Linked DNA regions of Homo sapiens: all the other regions are linked to region 2. Evidence: promoter capture Hi-C in human tissues and cell types (Jung and others, 2019). All regions are on one chromosome and are shown on one strand. Each heading gives the region's core, a stretch centred on a gene start or on the middle of the fragment in contact. The rest is flanking DNA. Distances are from core to core; before and after follow the strand shown.

What was found. Contacts are between HindIII fragments. The study calls those that stand out against the background at their distance.
Region 1: a fragment that was not itself captured here is called in contact with the fragment with the promoter of MYO5A in region 2 in 1 of the 25 tissues and cell types used here (lymphoblastoid cells).
Region 3: a fragment that was not itself captured here is called in contact with the fragment with the promoter of MYO5A in region 2 in 1 of the 25 tissues and cell types used here (dorsolateral prefrontal cortex).

The regions. Positions count from the first base shown.
Region 1 is chr15:52,669,256-52,672,322 of GRCh38, forward strand. The region is part of intron 2 of ATOSA (atos homolog A); the gene reads right to left. Among named protein-coding and RNA genes, the nearest start is that of ATOSA, 8.6 kb to the right of the region's middle. RefSeq lists an enhancer at 2,337-2,838. The HindIII fragment of the contact is 4,747 bases long and covers 1-3,067 here.
Region 2 is chr15:52,526,839-52,530,129 of GRCh38, forward strand. It overlaps MYO5A (myosin VA), which reads right to left and starts at 2,042. Exons shown (of 42, transcript NM_001382347.1): 1 at 1,942-2,042. The coding sequence starts at 1,968. RefSeq lists a silencer at 1,692-2,571. The HindIII fragment of the contact is 17,074 bases long and covers 1-3,291 here.
Region 3 is chr15:52,287,458-52,290,939 of GRCh38, forward strand. All of the region lies in intron 1 of MYO5C (myosin VC), which reads right to left. Among named protein-coding and RNA genes, the nearest start is that of MYO5C, 6.6 kb to the right of the region's middle. The HindIII fragment of the contact is 3,492 bases long and covers 1-3,331 here.

The sequences.
Region 1 (3,067 bases), core at 508-3,007, 140 kb after region 2:
AAGTAGGGTAACTTAGAGAAATCCTATGGTTAGTTCTTTCATAAAATGAATAATTTTTTGTATATCAGCATCCTTCTGTCAAACACACCAAATATGATATAGACCTTTAAAGTTATTTTAAGACCAAAATAAACAAAAAGAAGTTTGCCAATATCAAGGGCTAAAATTATACATTCTCTTACTGTTATAAATTTAAGTAGAAATGGCCAATGATCTCTCTCACAAACCATGATCTCTCTTCACAAAAGAAAATTGCTAATTTGATGAAAAATGTAAATGCACTTTCTAGATGTTAGGATAAAGTTTTACAAATAGCCTAATTTCAGATACTGACGCTAAATTAATTCCATTCAGGAATATACATTTGGTTAAGTGGGAAACCAAAATATGAAAACTTTAAATATTGTTTATTCCCAAATACAGATTGGTCATGTTCCCAAAGGGGATATGTTTAAGTCTGACCATTATTTAGGCTTAAATATTACTGACAAGCAATATGAGTTATGATTAGATTCCCAGAAGAGTCTACCAAAGGTTTCTTAACCTATAATGGCCATCTTGCAGCATCATGGAACAAATCTAAATTCTGGGTCATGGAAGCAGAAGGGCCATGCTCCAAGCACTGAATCAATCCTAGGTAATACTCTGAAACAAAGAAAAAAGCAGTTTTGGGCAACATCTCACCACTCTATTTTCCATCAGCCTCTTTCTAGTTCCCACCTCTGCCTCACTCTCTGCCCTGATGCTGCTCTAAACTGTTCATTAGGGTCTACTATCACCCAGAAATAGTGGGCTGTGTTCCAATTTGCCTACTTTCCCTCTCCATTGCATTTGCATTAAAGATTGGGTAGTTCAATGCTGGTTTTGACTTTTTTCTATGTTATTGTATATTTCAGAAGACAAGGTTGACAGTGACATAAGTGTCCATTGATCTTTCATGCTTGTTCCAACCAGTTTTCAAAACGGAGTTCTGAAACACTCATTTCCTCAGTGCAGCTGTTCCAAGCTGTGTATTCTTGTTAGCAGAGGAAACCATTTAGCAATCCCTACCCAGTGCTAGGCGTATGTTAAGTGCCAAACCATATGTTCTCAGTTTACCTTTCCCACAAGGCTTAAGGTTGACGGTATTAGAGCAAAAAACAAAACCGTTGTTCAGAAAGGCTATGTAATTTTTTCAAGGTAATTTGGCTGGTAAGTTCCGAAGTTAGAATTTCAATCCAAATTTGATCCTAAAAGCTTAGTGTCTTAACTTTTCTTGCATTATAGTACGCTGCTAAAAGGAAACCATTTAAACTAAAATATGACCATCATTTCAACAGTCCTCGAAAAATGTATAACTAAGTATACATTTATTAATCCAAGTGAATCTCTAGTTGGTATAATTTCTGTCAGGATAGCAAGAGGAAACTAAAAGTAATAAAATCCTCATACTGTGTGAATAGCACCAACTAAGATGCAGCTGGCTGTATTTGGGAAGACCTGGCCCTTTGCACATCTATACAAATAATCCTGCCCACAGAGTAAATTAGTCCACATTTATATAGCATCTCATGGCTTACTATGTTCTTTGACATATTATCTTAGTTGAAGCTCAGAAGCAACACCCTTAGCCAGCTACATCTTACAGATAAGTAAACAGGTTTGGGACTTAATCCAAGAATGGGTCCCAAATCTAAACTCTAAATCCTTTGAGTTTTTTTTCCATTAGTCTATCCGACTTGTACTTTCTTATATTCATAAACCTGAGGTTTACCAATTTGAACATACAGACATTCTCCCTCTCTCTCAGAAACAGCAATAGGAGCAAATTCAGCACAGGGGGTGGACATCAGAGAGCTTCTAGCAAATGTCTGTGTATGAATCATTTGTTAGACGTATATAAACTGGAAACCATTGTCACTAAATGGCTTTTGCCTACTTTTAAGATATTTTATAGTGTTTTAATTCAATAAGATATGATTAATTAAGAAATATAACCTTTATTTAAGTTATGGATAGTATCCTTAACTGTATTTTCAAAAAATTAAGTATAAAATTGTGATAACAGCCTAACAGTCATTAATTCAAACCAATCCCTAAATTGGCAGAAGTTCAGCTGGTATCAGTAAAACAATCAAATATTGCTACCCAGCTGCTCCTATTCCTATCTGCTCCACAAATACTGAGACATACAAGTCATTCTTTCATTTAACAAATATGTATTAAACACCTATGCACCTACCATGTACAAGACTGCCTACTAAATGATGGGAATACAGGTGTGAATAAGAGACAAGGTTTCCGGACTCACAAAACTTAAAATCTAGCTGTAGAGACAGACAATAAACAAAAGAAATTACAAAATGTGGTCAATGCTATGAAGGAAATACAGGCTGCTCAGACAAAGAATAACAAGGGACATCTCATTTAATAAATGACAGCAATTAACATTCACTGAGCACTTTGGATAGGGTAGTGAGAGAAAACCTCTCTGAAAAAATGACGGTTAAGTTCTATAACAAAAGAACAACAAGGAGACACCAATGTGATGACTGGGGAGAAAGGCTTTTTAGGCAGAAGGAATTTCGCATACCAGATCCTAAGTGGTAATCAAAAACCTAAAAGGCAGCTAGTGGGGCTGGATATGGTAAACAAGGGGAAGAGATGAGTATCTTTTACATGGAAAGGAAAATATGAGAAAGCTCAACTCAAATTATTGCTAGGAATTGTGGTATTACACATGGGCTCTTAGGCTAATATTTTGATTATCTGCTGGCATTTTTTACCTATTCCATCCTGTTTTACTTTAATAAGAGTCTGGGCCAGGTGCAATTCCTCACACCTGTAATCCCAGCACTTTGAGAGGCTGAGCCAGGAGGGCTGCTTGAGCCCAGGAGAATGAGAACAGTCTGGGCAACATAGTGAGACCCCATTTCTCAAAAAAAAAAAAAAAAAAAAAAGACAATTAGCCAGGCATAGTGGCGTGCACCTGTAGTCCCAGCTACTCTGGAAGCTTAAGCAGGATGATCTCTTGATCCCAGGAGTTGGAGGCTACAGTGAATTATGATTGCATCACTGTACTCCAGTC
Region 2 (3,291 bases), core at 792-3,291:
CAACAACAATTTATTATCCACTCAGTCTCTAGTTAAGCAGCCTACTATTAGGTGACTCAAAGATGACTGCTCACCATATAGAACGGAGGGTGTCCAATCTTTTGGCTTCCCTGGGCCACACTGGAAGAAGAATTTTCTTTGGCCACACATAAAATACACTAATGATAAATGATGAGCTAAAAAAAAAATTGCAAAAAAAACACAACAACCCATGTTTTAAGAAAGTTTATGAATTTGTGTTGGGGCACATTCAAAGCCGTCCTGGGCCCACATGCGGCCCATGGGCTGCGGGTTGGACAAACTTGATGTAGAAGTGGAGGGGATGGGCTACACAAAGTAACCAAGGAATGTTTACAGACTGATTATCTCTTCATGTGAAAATGATTTTGATATTTCTTAATATCGACCTCATAAGTTCCTTATGAGGATTATGAGTTCATATTTTTAAAACGCTTAAAACAGTACCTGGCACATAGCAAGCACCATATTAAGTGTTTAAGTTACTTTTAATCAGTTTCCAATTGCATTCGTTCATATGTTAGAGATCTACAATGCCTAAAGAAATTACCAGGTTGAGAGAGAAGTTCCAACTGTACAGTCGTTAAATCTAAAACTAGAAAGAAAGAGGTCTCAGACAATGTTTCATGCAAGCTCATTTCATGGTTGAAGAAATTAATCATATATCTCATATTTGCAGAGAAATTCATAGGTTACAAAAAGCTTTCACAACGATTATTAAGTTTGATTCTCACAACAGCTTGTAAGGGATGCAAGGCAAGTATAATTAACTGCATTTACTCATTAGGAAATCGAACCAGAGATGTTAAGTGACTTGTCCAAGGTCACAGTTAGTAAGTCCCGGCTTGAATCCAGGTCTCTTGATGCCCAGTCTTCTTTCCTCTACAAAACACACTGCAACTTGGGCCCTGGACTTCAGTGACATTTGGAAACAATGATTCCAGTGATTACAGGACCCTAAATGAAAGTTCTGTTGCAAAAGCTAATGTGAAAAGGCAACTCTATTAACTGCATGTAGAAGTAATCAATATCTGGCAAAATATCTACCTACACATGAGTGTACAGTATAAAATGCCATGATTACATATATTCACAAAGGTCATCACAAATCTGCGCAGCACTCAAGTGACAGTTCTCCATAATATGTCATTCAGAGATCGCCAGACCCTGAGTATATTGATGTCAGTCTAAGAAAAGACTGCCACTTCCCTTAAACCAAACCCAGAAGGGAAAGGCTTGCCCCAGAGGATGGTAAAGACATGGAGCCTAACAAGGCTCTGCGGGATTACACGCAGGTTGCAAACTCCCAGCGATAAATGAGTACCGACCCTCCCAGCCGGTGAATCAGCTCGCGTTCATCCGGCAGCATCTTTCCCCGGGGCTCGCCACCCCCAGCGCAGCTAAACTGGGGAGCTAAAGGTGATACGGCCACCGTTTGCAGGATTCAAAATAACCTCACAGAAAGGCTAGCTGGCGGTAGAAGCGGCACTGCATACCAACACAAGACGTTATTTTAAGCGCGTGTCCCCACGAGAGAACCCATCCGATCTACTGGAGCAAGCATCTCCCACCCGCCGGGAATTTTCCAAAGCCAAGCAGGAGGGGAGGCACGCCCGCCCTGCTAAATCCACATGGGCCCCCTTTCCACTCCGAAGCCCGCTCTGCCCCCAGCTCGAGCAGCGCGGCAGGGGCCTGGGAGACCCCCGAGGCGGGCCACCTTCCGCCGCCTTCACCATCTCGCCCGAAAGAGGAAGGTGCCGCAGCGGGCGACCGGCTGGTAGGGCCGAGGGTTCTGAGGCGCTGAAGGGGATGGCGCTGGTGGGGCTCGCCTGGGCCCGGCGCTCCCGCCCCCTCCCCAGCCTGACAGCTGGCGGCGAGGGCCGCACAGCCCCAGTCCTCGACGCCGGCCGCGGGGTGCCTTACCTTTGTGTAGAGCTCCGACGCAGCCATGGCGGGCCCCGCGCGCCTACGCCCCCCGCCTGTGCGGAGGCCGCACCTCGCCTGGGCGGCCGCCCGAGCGGACTAGGAAGCGCCCGCAGCCGCCGGCAGGGAGCAGGGCAGGGCAGGGCCGGGCGGGGAGGGCCGCGCGGGGCGGGGCGGGGCGGGGCGCCTCAGGCGCTGGCCGCCCGCAGGGGCCTCGCCATCACTCCCGGGCTCGCCGCGAGCAGCCGCGAGCGCTCCACCTGCCCGGGGTCCTAGGGGTCGCCGCCGCCGCCGCAGCCACTTCGGCGGCCCGCGATGCTGCCTCCGCTGCCGCCGCCGCCACCGCCGCCGCCCTGTGCATTATGGGAGCGGGAGGAGGCTGCGCTCCAGCGCTGCCACCGCGGCTGCTCTGGGCTCTCTCGGGCTCACGCTGCCTCCCATCGGCTACGAGCACAGAGCATCATCATCATCAGCCTGCCAGCCGGCCCCGCCGCCGCCTCGCGCCCTGCCGAGGCCCGGAAACCCGCCCGGGACGTGAGCCCCGAGGGCGCGGCACACCCCGGGCGCCCCCACCCCGAAGCGAGCCCGGGGCCCTCTGCTGCGGAGCCTAGCTCCCGCGGTAGCGCAGCCATGGCACGGGCTGTTACTGTGTCCGAATAAACGATGGGAGCCTCCAGGCTGCTCCTCCCGTCCTTCCAAGCATTCCTAGGGAGAGGATTTAGGGGAAGCCCTCTTGAAAGACTGTAGAATAACCCAGGACTGTAGAAGAGCCTTGTCAGCAGCAGTGACCCGGGAGATGGGCAATGCAGGACCGGGAATTTCAGGTTAAGGTTGATCACCAAGGTCATTCCGAGCACCTCGATGTCTGCAGCAAAGTCGTCTCCCGATACCAGAGGGCAAGGGCCGCTTCTAAGCTACAGAAACTTAAGTGACTTTGAAACGAGATAGCCCGGGGACAGCCCAGGTGCCTCTTTCCTAGACCTGTGCGTTTGCGGAGATGCAACTACCCTTCTGTCCCAGCCTTCTTCCCGTCCTGTTCGCTGCTGGTGATTGTCGGCTCCATGGTGGCACCTGAAGTTTATCCGGTTGCCACCTGAAAATGACGGAGTACTTACATGGAAAATCTGTATTACAGTTTAACTCAACATCAAAAGGGCAAAGCCGCCCTCACTCTCCTCACGGTGATCCTTGAACATCCAGCACAAGAATGTGGTCTTTCTACTCCCAACCCTGCGCTGTCTTCATCCTCTATCTTCTCCCCACCCTCATTGTCGTTTCTGGTTGAATAATCTTCATTCTTTATTGTTGTCGTTGTTGTTGTTGCTGTTTTTGTTTGTTTAATCCCTGCCT
Region 3 (3,482 bases), core at 336-2,835, 240 kb before region 2:
ACCTGAGAGTTGGATGTATTTTCTACAATATGTACCTATTACTTTCATAATCAGAACAATGAATGTTAATCTTTAAAGGCAAATATCAAAATATATGCCCCCCAAAAGAATTGTACATGAATTACCAAATTTATCAAGAATTGGCCACTACAGAGTCTCAGAACTGATTATCTACTCCAAGTTGTTTGTCAAACTCCTTTTTAGAGCTGCAGAAAGCCTACTTCAAAAGGAAGTTCTGGCCAGGCGCGGTGGCTCACGTGTGTAATCCCAGCACTTTGGGAGGCCGAGGTGGGTGGATCACCTGAGATTGGGAGATTGAGAATAGCCTGACCAACATGGAGAAACCCCGTCTCTACTAAAAATACAAAAGTAGCTGGGCGTGGTGGCGCATGCCTCTAACCCCAGCTACTTGGGAGGCTGAGGCAGGAGAATCGCTTGAACCCGAGAGGCGGAGGTTTCTGTGAGGCAAGATCTTGCCATTGCACTGCAGCCTGGGTGACATGCGTGAAACTCCGTCTCAAAAAAAAAAAAAAATTAAGTTGTAACAGCTGGCTAAGCGAAGCTGGTGAAAGTGGAGGTGTTCTGATGGGAGCTGGAGCTGAGAGCCCTGGGGGCCTTCCAAGGAAGCCTGGGCTCTGAGAAGTAATGTGAAAGTCACTAGGCCAATCAATCCTTTTGTTTAACAGAGCCCCTAACTGAAGCCCAGAGAGAAATAACTCACCAAACAGCAGACAGAGTCTCAAAGGACCAGGACTCCAGCAGAGCTAGGGCCTGTGACTCCTAGTTTGAACTCCGTATTAGTTAAGCGAATCTGGCCCTGAAAGTAATCCTGAACTCTGAACTGCAACCATCTACTTGAGAGTCCATGTGCTCTCCTAACTATAATTTAGGATTGGTTTCAGCTAAAAGTGGTATTAAATGGCAGGCAGTATTAGGACATACGTAACCACTGACGGCTTCTCTTCTGAAGACCAGTGACTCCTCAGCCCAGTACCCCAGGCCGCCCACACCCTGCGATCCTGGTGCTTCTGCTGGCATTGAGTGCCCTGCAGCTGAAACCCAGCCTGGTAAGTAAACAACGGTGAGTTTACTCAGCTCCGGGTAAGTTCCACCCATTCATTCCTGTCCCCTCCTCCCTCACATTCCTCTACCCACAAAGCAATGCTTCAAACTGGAGGAAGAGTTAACTTTACAGCATTCATCCAAACAGATGCAGTCCGCAGTTCATGCAAACAATGTAACCAGCTGTCAACTGACCTCCAGAATATGGGGCCTTCCCATGAGGCAGGAGTCTGTGGACTGGGATGGAACAGCTCGCCAAGCCCTTCAGCGGAGCCAGGAAAGAGAGGGCCACCTCCCAACTTCCCTGAGTGCCCTCCCCATGCCAAGGCGCCAAGCTGAGGCAGAGGCTCGGGACCACTGAACCTTATGAGCTCAAGACCATGCCAGCCACCCCCCCAAGGCACACAGGTGAGATGAGAACAGCATCTTCTCACGCCGCCTGCTTTTCTGAGGGATCTTCTGGCATGAGCCACAGAAATGACTTGAAGACTTATATGGAAGATGGGACAAGATGGGACGACATGTGTTTCCCTCCTAGAACCGCTTTCTGGACTGGGAGTGTCCACACTCCAGGTCAGCCAGGCCAGATTGTCACACCATGCCCCTCTCTTCCTCCTCCTCTTCATTCGCTCCTCATGGGCCCCTCCCCTGGCTCCCCTGCCCCTCCCACTGCCCCCCATGTCCGTGTCTCCCAAGGTCCTTCCCAGCCTCTTCTCATGATAGGCTGTTTCTGGAGAGTTCCACCCAATTCCACAGCTTCTGCAACTGCCTGGCACCTGTGCATCTGAGACCTCCCACCCAGATCGTGCACTGGAGCTCTACACCACATTTCCAATTGCCTCCAAGATGTCAGCCCCTAAATGTCCTCATAGACTCATAAATTCCAAACTCCAGTGATGCCGACGCTCCTCCTTCCTAGCTCTCTTGCCCCTCATGTCAGAAGCCTGGGACAGTGCTGGGCACCCCTCTGTGTCTCCACCCCAACAGCCCAACAGTCACCAGGTGCTAGAAAAGACTGCCTTTTAAAAGCCCTCTCCTGTCCGCCCCTGCCTACCAGCCCCCTTGCCATGGCCATAAGTCAGCCCCCAACCCTACCCCCACCAATCCTCTCTTGACTGGTGCAGCAGCCCCCGGAGGCTTCCTCAGCCAGGCTGAGCACGAGGTTTCTTTGGGCAGACAGACTCTCTCATCCGTACTTGATTGGAATTCCTGTGGGTGGGGCCCGGCAAGAGAAAAGCTTTGAAAATCAACCCCCACATGGGTTTTGAGGAAGAGCCAGGCCTGGGCAACCAGCATTCTGGCCAATTTCCTGCTCAGGCCTCACCCTCTTTTCAATCCACCCTCTGCCTGTGGCCACCCAAAACCACTAGCACTTTCTGGAACATGGCAGGCCTTCTTTGGCTTTCTGCTGTGTACTTCTGTTCCTTCCACCCTAGCCCCACCCATCCTCTCCCCATCCAAGAGCAAACAGCTCTGAACAGTCTGGAGTAGCTGGAGACACTCCTCATCTTGGCACTCTCCTTGCCACTTGCCATCTAGCAGAGCTGGATGCTTCCCTTGAGCGCTCTCTGCTCCTCCCCCAGGTATCTAGGCTGCCTCCCATCTCCCCCACTGGCATTTGAACTTTAAGAGCCTGGTCTTTGTGCTTGGAATCCAATGCAAAGGCTTCCCATAACTAGCACTCCATAAACAACTTTTGAACAAAAATTCAAATTCCCAGTGGTTCAGTTGCACCAATTAAAGACTAAGTATTTCAGTCTTTTCATCCCTTTTTTTCTCTTTGAACTACCCATACATAATACAATGGATACATTTAATTTTCCAGAGTTGTTAATGGTATATAGAAGTCTAAAAACTATTTAGAATTAGCCAAATTAAAAAAAAAATCGTTACGCTGAACTTTGACCTCATTTTAGACAGGGGCCCTGGACTGCTAGTCAAGACACTTCTTTTGACCTTGCACATCTGAGTTTCAGCAGAACTTTGAAGATATTTGTGAGTTCCTCTTGCACAAGTGAAAGAAACAGATGGTGGAATGACTGTAGTGAACCTGTCACTACACAGTCATAACCTGAGTTCTAATTAATGAGCAAGAGCAACCTTTAGGAAAAAAAAAAAAAAAAGGTCTCCAGAGGCATGCCACAGAGCTCTACCGCCTCCCCTTTCATTCAACACTTTCACCAGTATCGTAGATGAAAAAACAAAACACATGTATCAAACAAGCAGATGAAATGATTGATTAGCTAAAGATGATCAAGATTCAAAAGGTTTTTACAAGCTACAGAAACGCTGGGCACTAAACAAAACAGAAAATTTTATAGGGATAAATGTAAAGTCTGTATTTAGGTAAAAAAAATCAACTGTATTATAATAGCATCAGTATTTGAGTAATCTTTATTAAGCATTATGTGTCAGGTGCT